3 separate regions of the Homo sapiens genome follow, and all the other regions are linked to region 2. The links are contacts of gene promoters, found by promoter capture Hi-C in blood cells and fetal thymus (Javierre and others, 2016). All regions are on one chromosome and are shown on one strand. Each heading gives the region's core, a stretch centred on a gene start or on the middle of the fragment in contact. The rest is flanking DNA. Distances are from core to core; before and after follow the strand shown. Region 1 overlaps POGLUT1 (protein O-glucosyltransferase 1). Region 2 holds the start of GFM1 (G elongation factor mitochondrial 1). Region 3 holds the start of LNP1 (leukemia NUP98 fusion partner 1).

Region 1 (4,271 bases), core at 408-2,907, about 39 Mb after region 2:
TGCTGAATTCTGTTTATAGAACCTAATAGTTTCTTCCCTCACAGTGAATTTTTTTCTCAGGGGTCAGCAGGTTCCCTTCCCTGCCAGGTTCACCAAGTACTGCCCTTGCTACGTATTTTACATTTTGTTACATTATATATGATATAAAACTTTTCAACATGTGGAGAGAGAATGAATTTTGAGAACTCCAAGAACCATTTCATTTACTTATCCTTCATGGTATAAATTAATTTTTACCTCCACAAAGTTTCCCATCTGCTCCAGTTGGAAGTTTATTCTTCCTCTAAACTCCAGATCCACATTGTCTTCATGAATAATTGGCACTCCTGTTGCCTTAATCACCTTCCACGTATGTATGATGCCTCTCATATTGTTTATCATCTCAACGGCACAGCCCCTTGAGGTTTGGGAGCCTCTTGTAAACTTTCCTTGTCTCTGTGCATAGTAGATGCTTAAGAAGTATCTGGTAAGTATTAAATGAGTGACTTGTAAATATAACTCTCTGCTCCATCCACAACACCTTACCTCTGGATGCAGTAAGATTATCCTAAGAGAGGGCATCTTTAGATGCATGTAAAGATAGACTTTTGTGTATCTGTGCTTTTTTTTTTTTTTTTTTTGAGAAACAGGGTCTTATTCCCATTGCCCAGGTGGAAGTACAGTACAGTGGCATGATCATGGCTCACTGCAGCCTCAACATTGCGAACTCAAGCTATCTTCCTGCCTCTTTTTTTTTTTTTTTTTTTTTTTTTTTTTTTTTTTTTGTAGAGCCGAGGTCTCACCATGTTGCCCAGGCTGGTCTTGAACTCCTGGGCTCAAGTGATTCTTCTGCCTTGGCCTCCCAAAGAGCTGGGATTACAGGTGTGAACCACTGTGTCTGGCCTGTTTGTGCTCTTGTTTGTAGTCAGTCTAGGGGTTAAGTGTAGGGAACTCTTGGAGGTGACCCAAATGAGTCCATTAAAGTTTTTGTCCTTGGGAATTTTGAGCTGAGACAGAGCCCAATAGGTAATGGAACTGCATTATAGTAGCACCCTGGAAACAGTCAAAATTCTTGCTGAGATTCCTGGAGGTGCCCTTGCTTCTATCCTTCTAACCACTGTGAAACCTTTTTAGATTCCACGAGATGCCCTCATGTCCTTCTAGTAAGTTACTTTGCTTAAACTAGCTAGAGGCAGTTTCTGTTCTTGACCACTAGGAAAATCTGAACTGATATAGTAGAATAAGGTGGGTCACTGACAGCACATAGATAACACTCCCGAAATAAATAAAGACAAAGCATTATTTGTGTTATGCAAGTATCCCACTTCATTCAAATAAATTATTCTTTCCTTGAAGAAAAGCATGGCCATTAGCTCTCTGAAAAGGAAAGGGTAAGTTTGGGACTGAACTAGTAATAACAACAACAAATAAAACCTTCAAAAGTTGTGGGGAAACAAATTATTTTCAAAAACAATTTACATAGTTATACCATCCTCATATCATCTACACTGAGGTAAACAGATAGACAAGTACAAAATCTGAATAACATTTGCTGTATTTAAAGACAAAGATGCCCTTATTGGCTCTTCAAAGGGCAGGTGAGGATTTACATTGATCCAATTCTTATGGTCTTATCTACTCATCCTTTGGAGCCAGTAATAATCTGTATATAGGATCTGGTTAAGCCAACTGTCTCCATTCCTCCATCCATCCATCCACCCACCCAATAGTTCTTTGTGTGAGGCACTGTGCTGGATCATGAAGCCATCAAGATGAGTAAAATTAGATTCTCACCCATTAATAAGTTTACAGAACAGTAGGAGAAACAGTCAAGCAACTACAGTGATGTCATATAATACAGGCATAAACAAAGTACTATGGTAGCCCCTTACTGCCTGGAGGAATGAATGAAAGGAGTCAGAAAGAAGGTGATGTTTGAGCTGAAACTTGAAGCTAAATGGGAAACATTCCCAGGGAAATGAATCTTCAGCTCCTAATCTAAAGGATAGCAAATTTTGTTCCTATTTTAATGAGAGGAAATTAAAATTCAGAGAGAATGCTTACACCTAGTAGGGCCTCACAGTGACAAGGCAAAACCATAGTACGACTCAGAAATCTGGACTGCCTATTGCTAGATTCACAGACTAAGAACCTAAGAACACGGTCCCTGTGCATTGCTAGTACTCAAAAAAAAAAAAAAAAAAAAATCCAACTTTAAACATCTGCTTATTCCATGAAATGATCTTGCCAGGCATGCTCAACTTCTCTAAGAAGGTCATTAGACTTAAACTTTTGTGGAAAGGAGTTTAAAAAGCCAAATACATTTCTGACAAATGGAATGTCTGATAATTATGTGACTGAATCTCACATTTACTAATTCTGAAACTAGTTAATACCAAATAGTTCTTAAAAGACAAAGGAAGAGAGGTGATTTCTCTGTGGAAAGGTTGGGCCTAAGGGTCAAGGATGGTTCTAAGTCATCAGACTACAGAGTTTTAATCTAAACATTTTTCTTCATTTTTTACTATGTTAGAAAGAGCACCCTGAGATATTAAACTACTACCCAAAACATCTTTTTCAAAAAGTGAAAAAAGGAAAAGGGAGGCACTCCATCATGGATTTGCACTAAAACAAATATCTTCTATATATTTGAAGTTGAATGCTCTTAACTACCAACTGAATGGCACGTTCACATATGAAGACTTCTTGTGATTCCTGCAAGACAGTGAGAGTGTGAATGACCCCTGCTGTGGCCAATTTAAGAAGGAAAAATATTAAAGGTATGCAAAGGGTGAGGAAGAGCTGCTGTTCTATGTATAGTTCCATTAAATTTATTAAGAGGCTTTGTCTTTTTTTTTTTTTTTGGCTTTAGAGAGGCATTAAGAAGTAGGGCATGAAGGCACAAAAAGGGAACCTGAAATCCAATTGCAATAATTACTCATGCAATTGGCCTCTTTCTATGTGGCATTATAGAAACCTCCTGAGTAACACAGTTTATGGTTTTACAAAAGAGAACTCCTACATCATTGCATGGCATGGCTACCGCTTCCTTAGACCATTCAGAGAATGATCCCCAAGTATTTTTCATAAACCCCATAGGGTTTCCTACATTAAAATAAAGTGACAGAGATCACGCCTTGAATAATTTCACAATTCCAGCAATGAGTTGTACTACTTCCAAATGACGAATTTTCTGCTCCAAATAATGGGACAAAGGGCATCATCACATGGACACAGTCAATTTCACAGTGATGGACTCACACAGGTGGATGATCTGAGGCACAAGCTGTGATTGGTCTTAAGAAAATGAAAGGTAGAGTTGGGTTCAAAATCCACATCTCACGATTTCTGGTCCTTATTCATCCAAAAAGTTGAACTGCTTCATATCAGTGTATTAGACACATTTTAAATCTTTCTCAAGAGTTGCTCTGGGTGCAGCATGATAAGGAAAACCAGGTATTTGGCTTGATAGCAGATATTCAAGGTATAGGTGCCAAGCTTATGGTAAGCTTCTCACCGTAGGATATCTGAGATCTGTTGCCACAAAGAGGACTATGGTCCTATGATGACTACTATAGTTCAGTTTTCAACATTTTGGGAATAATTTGATCATAACCTTTCCTTCTCGTTACATTATAAGACAGGAATTTAGAGTATTCACTCAAGAGGTTCTCCCAGTAACAGGTGATGTCATCCATCTGCAAATGGTTCCTAATAAACTGGCTTCCCCTAGAGACAAGATTTAACAAGAAAATGTTAAAGCACAGAATTTAATGATAATAGCAGTCTGCATTTGAGTGCTCACCTTGTGCCAAGCATTATTCAGCATTTTATATAAATTAATTCATTTGAGCCTCAAGAACCAACCCTATGGCAATCATATCCACATACATGCATGTAGCAATACAACTTAACAATCTTTTTCCTTTATTTATTTATTTATTTATTTATTTTTTGAGACGGAGTTTCGCTCTTGTTGCTCATGCTGGAGCGCAATGGTGCGATCTTGGCTCACTGCAACCTCCGCCTCCCGGGTTCAAGTGATTCTCCTGCCTCAGCCTCCCGAGTAGCTGGGATTACAGGCACGCACCACCACACCCGGCTAATTTTTTTGTATTTCTAGTAGAGATGGGGTTTCACCATGGCTAGGCTGGTCTTGAACTTCTGACCTCAGGTGATCCGCCCACCTCGGCCTTCCAGAGTGCTGGGATTACAGGCGTTAGCCACCACGCCCGGCCCATCTTTTTCCTTTAAAACAAGCATATGTAGACATGTGTGTATGTTTTCCCCCA
Region 2 (4,684 bases), core at 529-3,028:
AACTCACCAGGAGTATCTATAATGTTAATATTGACATCTTTCCACATGGTGTAAGTGGCTGCTGACTGAATAGTGATTCCTCTTTGTCTCTCTAGTTCCATGGAATCCATGACAGCACCAACTCCATCTTTACCTTTCACCTAAACACAAGCACAGCAATTCAGACTTTCTCTGTCCCTGCATTCCAAGAAGGAAAGAAATCTTAACTGAAATGGAAACAGTTGCCAGGTGCAGTGGCTCATGCCTATAATCCCAGCACTGTGGGAGACTGAGGCAGGATGATAATTTGAGCCCAAGAGTTTGAGACCAGCCTGAGCAACAAAGTGAGACCTCTTCTATAAAAAATAAAAATAAAACCAGAACACAGATACTTAACTTAAGCAACTTTCAGATAAGCCTAACTGTCAAAAGTCCGCTGTTACCATTGTTTTAATCTTTCAGGTTTATAAGCTTTATTAAATAATAGCAACAAAACAATTAAAATCTGGTTCTAATTAATCCGGAATCAACCGTGAATATATACCTCATGCATCTTTGCAATTCTGCCAGTGTAGTAAAGGACTCGTTCTGTTAATGTAGTTTTCCCAGAATCAATGTGAGCTGAGATTCCAATATTTCGTATTTTTTCATTAGGAATCACCCCTGATGAAGACCATCGGCAGGCCTTCCAATTAACCTGAAAAAAATACGAGAGCTCAATTCTATGCACCTTTTATAAGAGAGAACAACAGACAATTAAAAGGAGTATGGTGGACATTATTCCTCCAAGAAATCTCACTGGATATGAGATAGCTTGAGAAAGGCACCAGGGGAAACCTTTAAGCCTGGAACTCTTGTAATCAGAGGACAGACTTCAAAACAAGACAGTAAAGACGTATTCTTTTAAAATTAATTAATGAATAAGTTAAATTTAATTAAAATGGGAGACACTTTTTACTGCAGATTTGAAAATACACACTGGGGCAGATAAAATCACAAAGACAGCTCCAAAAAATACTTTAATAGAAAATACAAATTTTAGCTTAAATTTAACTTAATTTTTTTCCCTTTCTCCTTTATTGTAGTTCACAGATGACAAATATGTTTGAGAACTTATATGCTCTATGCAGTGATGCTAGTAGCTCCAAGACAGCCCCCAAAGATTTCCAATTCCCTCCAAACAAAAACAATTCATGAAGCTTGTTTTAACTTTACTCTGGTGGCAGGGGATGGGGATCCCTATTAGATGGAATGAAGATACAATATAAACCTTTCCCTATAGGACTGCACATCCAAAATGCACAATTATTCACGGGAAAAGAGAGGCAAAAAAAAAAAAAAAAAACCTTAGAAAAGGTGGATAAAATATCAAAGTATCTGAGTGACAGACACTTTTAGTTGATTAAACCCTAGGGATACCAGAGAGCGAAACAAACGAGCTAACGAGCTAATGTGCAGGCACCGAGGTGCTTTTCAGCACTGACGAGCGACTGCCAGTATTCGGAGCTGTCAGTCATGAGGACCCAGGGGGTGTCACGGCCTTCCATTGCCCAGAAGGGATCACAAGGTTCCGGGAATGGTCCCGATTTAGCCTCTCTATGCTCCGGTACCTGCTTCCTCTGCCAGCCTAGGGAGGCGGGGGCCCTTCCGCGCCCCAGAGCCGCGACGGCTGCAGCTCCCAGGAGTCTCATGGCAAGCGCAGAGCACGCGTCAAAGTCCCGTGGCGCCGGGTGGGTTCAGCTGCCGGTAACGCACCGGGAAGCGGTCAAAGTCACGCCGGCAGCCAATGTTGTAAGAGCACTTCCGGGGCAAAGGACGCGAGGAAAAAGAGAGTGAGGAAAAGAAAGAAGAGCAACTGGATTGGAGGCGGAGCAGTGCCTACGCTGCTCGCGCGCCGTCTGCCGACTTGGAAGAGAAAGTGCAATCGCTTTGCGGAGCTAAAGAAGTGTTTGCTCCCAGTAAGACGGCATAGGTATATGGGTGAGGGAAGGGAGTCCTTTTGTCTTCGTCTTCTTTTTTAAATATTACCTCTGTATGAAGATACAGAATTTAAACATGGTTGTTAGGCCTATAAAGCAATGTGGAGAAATGTATATAACAATTTAAGTAGAAAAGAGCAAAATTGTCTATTACAAATATTAATAGGTATATATATGACATGGCCTGAAAAAGAACGTGGACAAATTATAGTGAATGAACTATCAATTACAATTACAAATACTTTTCCTCATGTCAAAATGTTATTTGTTATTGTTCGATGTCAGACATTTCATGTCCTGTCCATGTGGAAGACTGCATCCTTGACCATTCTGCTTGGATGTGTTAAGAGGCATGTTGAACCTAACAGGTCCAAAACTGAGCTTCGGATCTTCTTCCCCAAACCTTCCACAGTCTTATCCATCTCATAAATGTAAACTTTAGTGATTCTAGCCAAAAATATTAGTCGCTTTGACACCATGCTGTGACATCTCCGGTCTAATCAGTCAGCATATCCTGTAAGCTCTACTTTCAAAAAGACATCCAGGGCCGGACGCGGTGGCTCACACCTGTAGTCCCAGCACTTTGGAAGGCCGAGGCGGGCAGATCACGAGGTCATGAGATGGAGACCATCCTGGCTAACACAGTGAAACCCCGTCTCTACTAAAAATACAAAAAAAAATTAGCCGGGCGCGGTGGCGGGCGCCTGTAGTCCCAGCTACTCGGGAGGCTGAGGCAGGAGAATGGTGTGAACCCAGGAGGCGGAGCTTGCAGTGAGCCGAGATCACGCCACTGCACTCCACCCTGGGTGACAGAGCGAGTCTCAAAAAAAAAAAAAAAAAAAGAAAATCCAGAACTTACTTCTCCCCACCTCTCAGTACTGCCGTTTCTGGAGGGAACTATTGTAATAGCCTTGTAACCGATCTCACTGCTTCTATCCTTGCTGTTGTCAGTGGGCCGGTTCAGGTGCTTGACTTCACCACACAAAAGAATTTGAAAGCAAGTACAAAGTAAGAGTAGGCAAAAAAGTTTATTGTAAACCAAAAGTACACTCTGAGAGGCAGAGTGGGCTGCTCAGAAGAGAGACAGACAGCCTTTAGTATCTCTAGGGAATTCCCTTTATGGGTGAGGCAGGAGAACAGGGTCTAGAGACAGGGAACCGAAGGCCCTGCTGACTTCCTAGAGCTGAACCAAAAGGAAAACCCCACCTCTCCATGCCCAAGTAACAAAAGGATCGGAGGCTACTCCCAATGCACTGCATTGCAGATGAAAAAATGGAAAGTACCTCTGACTGGTCCCCTCTGGCAAATAATCAGACTGGTAGCAGGCCAAGTCCTCATGTGTAACTTTGTAACTTCACTTCAGCCTCTGATTGGTCACCTCCTGCAACCAAGCAGGCTGGTTATGGGCCACTCCTTCATTTACATAGGGTGTAACCAATGGGAACGCTCTAGAGGGTATTTAAATCCCAGAAAATTCTGTAACAGGTGCTCTTGAGCTGTGGAGTGTACTTTTGTTTCAACACATCTGTGCCTTCATTGCTCCATTCTTTCATTGCTTTGCTTATGTGTTTTGTCCAATTCTTTGTTCAAACGCCAAGAACCTGTATGACTCATAGTCAAGACCCTTCACTGGTAACATGGGAGCTGTACATATATATTCATAAAATACTGGTAAGGTCAAGTATGCAAAGGTGGACCTGTGGTTGGCACAGGTACTTGGCATCTACATGTTCTAACACAGGAGTCCCCAACCTCTGGGCCAGAGACCAGTATCAGTCCATGGCCTGTTAGGAACCAGGCCACACAGTAGGAGGTAAGCAGTGGGCGAGCGAGTGAAGTTTCATCTGTATTTACACCCTCTCCTTATCACTTGTATTACCACCTGAGCTCTGCCTCCTGTCAGATTAGCAGTGGCATTAGATTCTCATGGGAGTGTGAACCCCCTTGTGAACTATCCATTCAAGGGATCTGGGTTACGCACTCCTTATGAGAATCTAATGCCTGATGACCTGAGGTGGAGCTAAGGTGTGGCCGCTAGGGCTGGGGAACAGCTGCAAATACAGATTAACATTAGCAAAGAGGTTTGACTGCACAGAGACCATAATAAATCAATTGCTTGCAGATTCATATCAAAACCCTGTCAGTGAGTGTCAAGTGACAAAAGCTGCACTGGTGGCAAGCTTTATAGTGGCAAGTGAGTTGATGTATTTCAGTTGTACAGTTGCATCTGATGGCAGGCTTTAAAGTCTTGCGTGGCCCGCCCATTATTTTATTTACCACTTCCGTCCGCGCTTCCTTCCCACACTGAGCACTTGCCTCAGTCACAGTTTTGGTAAGCCCACAACCTAACTCTAGCCAAAACGAGTAAAAAACAAATGTCACTGGAGAGCTTCTTTGAAAATGGGGAAAGACCCAATGATGAGAAAATGGAAAACTCTAAGACTGCTAATAAAAGGAAAGCTGCATGTGAAAGAAAATACCTAGAGTCCTACTTAAATTGCAGGTTCACTGCAACAGGTGATTCACATTCTCCAAGCCTGCTTTATATAATATGTGGCAAGCGGCTATCCAACAAACCCATGAAACCTTCAAAACTGCTTCGCCACATGGAGACCAAGCACCCTACATAAAAAGAGAAGCCTTTGGAGTTTTTCAAAAGAAAAAATGTGGACACGAAGAACAGAAGCAATTATTGAAGGCCGCCACTTCCATCAAATGTGTCTGCA
Region 3 (4,584 bases), core at 339-2,838, about 58 Mb after region 2:
TCAGTAAGGTCCCAAAGCCAGTAAGCGACACTCTATTTGGCTCTACAGTACCATCAATTAGGAAATGGAGGAGAAAATGAGAGAATAGCATAGGCTAGAGAATGGAAATGAGATGTTTATCAAAGTATAAAAGTAACCAGAACAGATTCGTTTACTAATGCCAACCTTAAAAATAAAGCCAAACAAAATCAGGCCTTTAGATAAATATTAATCCAAAAAATGTTTCAAGAAAATAACACCGATTCCCTTTGGAGAGGGGAACTGTGCAGCTGAGGACAGGGACTGAAGGAAGACTTTTCACAGTAAACTCTGTAACTTTTGGAGTTTAACCGTAACAGTGTATTGCTTACTCCAATAAATAAGAAAAAGGTTTAAAAAAAAAACTTCAAATATGTTTTAGTTCCTATCAAGTTTGTAATTGTTAGCACTCTACAATCCTCCAAGAGGCCACAGCAAAACTGAAATTTCAGAAAAAAAAAAAAATCCTAACTTGTGTTCTGAAAAAGGCAAGGCAGAGCTTATATTAAGGGGCAGAAAATTTGCCTTTGGGGATTGGGGGATCAGGAGGGGAGAAAAGCCTATTGCCTGCAACGATCAACTCAATTCCACTGCTATTTTTAGCCCATTTTTTTAGTCTGTTGCTAAGAAACCCTATTGCCTGAAGGCAATTTACTAATAGGAACTTACATGAAGCAGGAGAAACCGGTGATCCTGAAATTCTTTCCAATTAGGCCATTCTATTTTAATCAGTCCATTCTGGTGCCACTTGATAAAATATCTCCTTTCAATCTTTATGTAGCTCTACTGTGATGTTGTTGCACTTAACAGCAAAACAATCATTTATGAAATCTTAATGTAAGGCTTCTGCAAACCAGTATACCAGAAATGGAGAACCATAGTTCTGGACTCTGATTTTTCTATTAATAGTTGTCTTCATGAAAATACCGTGTATTCCAAACAATACCTTGCAAGGTAATTTTATATTTTAAGAGATCTGGTGCAGAGCATCGGAAAAAGAGTTGATAAAGCTATTATAGATAAAAAGCTGTGAACTGAAATTACGATTTGGGAATGAGACGAGAAGAGGGCTGAGACTGCTACTGCAAAACAACCCGGGGGGCGTGCGGATCAGAGCGAGATGTGGGCTGACGCAGAAATCAGCTCAAGATACAAATACGCCAAGAAAGGCTCGAAGCCGGCGGGAACCCTGACGCTTCGCATTTCTACCAACTCAGTTTAAGAAACCCCTAACAACGCAGATGTCATCGCTTCGTTAATTGGTGCCGACGATGAGCCACAGCGACCACGCTCAAACCGTTTCGACTGCAGCCAACCTAGATGTGCCATTTCCACCTAGTCTTCTGCCATCGCTATCTCCCCTATAACCTCAAATTCGTCCAAACTAAAATCTCGCTATGTTAGTGATAAGAAGTTCAGTGATGCAGCAGCCTTCTTCAGCGGTGAGCTCTTTCCTCACACATCTTTAAAAGTCCTTCTAATCCGTTGGTTTCTCGGGCACGCGGGCAGAAAACCGTGCTAACGGCCACAGAGGTTCAAGAGGTGCCAACGTGGCTATAACTGGAAAACTGGATCCGAAATCGACCAGTAAACTGGGTAGCTCGGTCTACGCCCCGCCCACCACCCTTGCTAGCCAATAGCCTTCACAACTCTTCTGCCACTCCCGCCCATTCCAGTGCTGTGCCGCTGCTTTTTCTTCCACTCGGATCTCTTGAGCGCCCTTAGCCCGCTGTATACGCGCCCCTCCTCGGCTTCAGTAGGCAAGAGGGCCATCTGCCCTTCTTTCCTGAAGGTAGAGGGGACAACACCAGCTACGACGGGGACTCCAGAAGTCCATCTCCCGAACAGCAGCGGGGCGAAAAGAAAGAAAAAGGGTTTCCGAAGACTCCTACTCACACCCACGCTTTCCCTTAACCCGGAAGTGATTTCCGCCCCTCCTCTCCCTCTTCGGTTGATACTGGAGGAGAAGGACGGCCAGGTCTGGCCCGGCATGCCCTGGGCTTCCGGTGACCTCTGGCCCTTTTCTGTCGTCCGCTCTCTCTGCCTAGCGTGCTCGCTCGCTCATTGCTTTCCTTCCCTCCCTCGGTCTTCCTTCGCACGCTGTTTGGTGATTGTGGCGCTCGCGACAGACAGGGAGGCGGTGGCAGAGGACACTTGTCATGGCCGCCTCTAAACCTGTGGAGGCAGCGGTGGTCGCAGCCGCTGTACCGAGCTCCGGGAGTGGGGTGGGCGGCGGCGGGACTGCGGGCCCGGGCACGGGGGGGCTGCCGCGATGGCAGCTGGCTCTGGCGGTCGGGGCACCCCTGCTGCTGGGCGCGGGTGCCATATACCTGTGGAGTCGGCAGCAACGGCGCCGGGAGGCCAGAGGCCGGGGCGACGCCAGCGGCCTGAAGCGCAACAGCGAACGGAAGACCCCGGAGGGCAGGGCCAGTCCGGCCCCGGGCAGCGGACACCCTGAAGGTCCCGGTGCTCACTTGGACATGGTGAGAAGCAGCCCCAGGCCGTAGAGGAGGAAACTGGCTCGTGCAGCTTTTCCTTGGCGGGTTGTGTCAGTGAGGGGGCTTCCCATCAGACGGAAGCTGCCAAGCGGCAGCACAACACTTGGGTTTAGGGAGACTCATTTCTGGCTGCCAGTGGAGGGCATAGAGTAGCTCGATGACAGGTTACTGGCATTCTTTGACAGTTTGCTTTTGGTTTCAGAAAAATCCTTTGCTTTTCTTCTCAGTGACACAGCATTTATCCCTAGTGTTGTAGATGGGAGTGGGGCATTTGCAAATGTGATGATTGTATTTAATAAGTGAAGGAAGCTAAATTCGATTAACAATTGGTACATCGTGATACGAACTGTTTCTGTGATTTCCAAAGCCTACAACCTAATCGCTAAGAGCCTTTTAATAATGAGCCACTCCCCCTTTTGGAGTGTGTTTTTGCTGGGGGTAAGTGGGCAACTACAGTGACGGTTAGTTGACAAAAGCAAAACAAAAACAAAAACGATTAGATGGCTTTCTACATAGAAAAAGAAAGACTACACAGGTTCTAAAGAGTGAAATGGTGTTCAGTGGCATTTGTTTTACAGCCTCTGAACTGTAAGCAGAACTGTCAAGCTCCCAAGGCTCGTCCTCTCTCAGCAACCCCGAAGCCCCCTTGGCTGCAAGCACTCAGCGCCCGTAACCTCTCCTGCCATGCCCCAGCCCCAAGGTGTCCTTTTGCACTCCGGACCCCTTGGCCTTTGTCAGAAAACGCTCTGCACTGCACTGTCCCCTCTTGCTGCACAAGAGTAGCGGCCACAGCAATGCTCACCAGGCTTGGTTGCACACAGCCCCCTGCCCCAGGTCCAGGCCTACACACACATACAAAAAAAAAAAAAAAAAAAATGGGAGTGACTTCTTAAACTTTTTGATTGGAAGCATCTTAAATTCAGTTTTTCCATTTCACCTGGAAATGTACATGACCAAGCCTAATATGCATGATACAGTTTCTCTGATGTGAGGCCAAGCATTGGATTATTTAGTGAACTGCTTTGTATGGTTTTGGTGAACTGACTGTTAAATCCTTTTGGTATCTGACAGCTGTGCAGAGAATTAGTCTGGCTGCATTTGACAATACTGGGATTGGGTGTGGTGGATTTTCTCTGGGTCTGGAGTTGTTCAATGGTAGTACCAGAGTAAGTCGAGGTCAGAGAAACGTTTGGTCAAATATCTCCCAGTTTTATACATAAGTATATACAGTTGGTCAAGTAACTTCTAATTGTATCCAAGTGTATACACTTAAATATGTATGCAAGTCATTTCCATATTATACTATTCAGGTTGAATTTTTTTTTTTTTTTTGAGATGGAGTCTCACTTTGTTGCCCAGGCTGGAGTGCAGTGGTGCGATCTCAGCTCACCACCACCTCCGCCTCCTGGGTTCAAGCAGTTCTGCCTCAGCCTCCGGAATAGCTGGGACTACAGGCGCGCGCCACCATGCCCCGCTAATTTTTGTATTTTTAGTAGAGACGGGGTTTCACTGTGTTGGCCAGGCTGGTCTTGAACTCCTGACCTCAGGTGATCTGCCCATCTTGGCCTCCCAAAGTGCTGGGATTACAGGCGTGAGCCACCGCGCCCGGGCGAAGATATTTTTACTAGGATGTCAAATTAGCTTTAAAGGAAGTTTTGGTGTAGGAATGAACAAACTAGTATCTGCAGTGTGTGAGGCATTGTGCTAGGCCATGAGAAAGCCATATGATCTTTCCTATGGGAGAGTGAAGCATTACCTATTTTCTAAAAGGTTTATGACTGGATAGTAGAAGAACTTATGGACTGTGTTAGAACTAGGATTTGTAAGCTTTATAGTGGGCTCTCCAGCATTGTCACTTTGGGAAAGTCATTTTGTCTCCTTGACCTTAGCGTCATCCCTGTAGAATAAGAGGATTAAAATATTAGATCTCTTCTGTTTCTTTCAGTACTAAAAATTGATGATTCTCATTATGATCATTTATAATAGCTCACTGCTGCTATTAAAAGTAGTTATCAAGAGGATTATTTGAATTAATTATCACTTGTCTTACATCAATTTTGGATGTCTG

What was found. Contacts are between HindIII fragments. The CHiCAGO score rates a contact against its expected background, and 5 or more counts as called.
Region 1: a contact is called between a fragment that was not itself captured here and the fragment with the promoter of GFM1 in region 2, in 1 of 17 cell types (non-activated CD4 T cells). The highest score is 5.8, in non-activated CD4 T cells.
Region 3: the fragment with the promoter of LNP1 here is called in contact with the fragment with the promoter of GFM1 in region 2 in 1 of 17 cell types (non-activated CD4 T cells); the score reaches 6.1 in non-activated CD4 T cells.

What each region holds. Positions count from the first base shown.
Region 1 is chr3:119,491,719-119,495,989 of GRCh38, reverse strand. POGLUT1 (protein O-glucosyltransferase 1) reads right to left here. Exons shown (of 11, transcript NM_152305.3): 11 at 1,282-3,708. The coding sequence ends at 3,552. Among named protein-coding and RNA genes, the nearest start is that of TIMMDC1, 4.7 kb to the left of the region's middle. The HindIII fragment of the contact is 3,644 bases long and covers 1-3,479 here.
Region 2 is chr3:158,641,621-158,646,304 of GRCh38, reverse strand. GFM1 (G elongation factor mitochondrial 1) reads right to left here and starts at 1,778. Exons shown (of 18, transcript NM_024996.7): 1 at 1,590-1,778; 2 at 524-676; 3 at 8-140. The coding sequence starts at 1,670. The HindIII fragment of the contact is 2,960 bases long and covers 1,181-4,140 here.
Region 3 is chr3:100,398,543-100,403,126 of GRCh38, reverse strand. LNP1 (leukemia NUP98 fusion partner 1) reads right to left here and starts at 1,588. Exons shown (of 4, transcript NM_001085451.2): 1 at 688-1,588. TOMM70 (translocase of outer mitochondrial membrane 70) reads left to right here and starts at 2,038. Exons shown (of 12, transcript NM_014820.5): 1 at 2,038-2,501. The coding sequence starts at 2,178. RefSeq lists silencers at 1,570-1,649, 2,260-2,339 and enhancers at 1,710-1,799, 1,810-1,859, 1,910-2,019, 2,701-3,620. The HindIII fragment of the contact is 4,606 bases long and covers 1-4,345 here.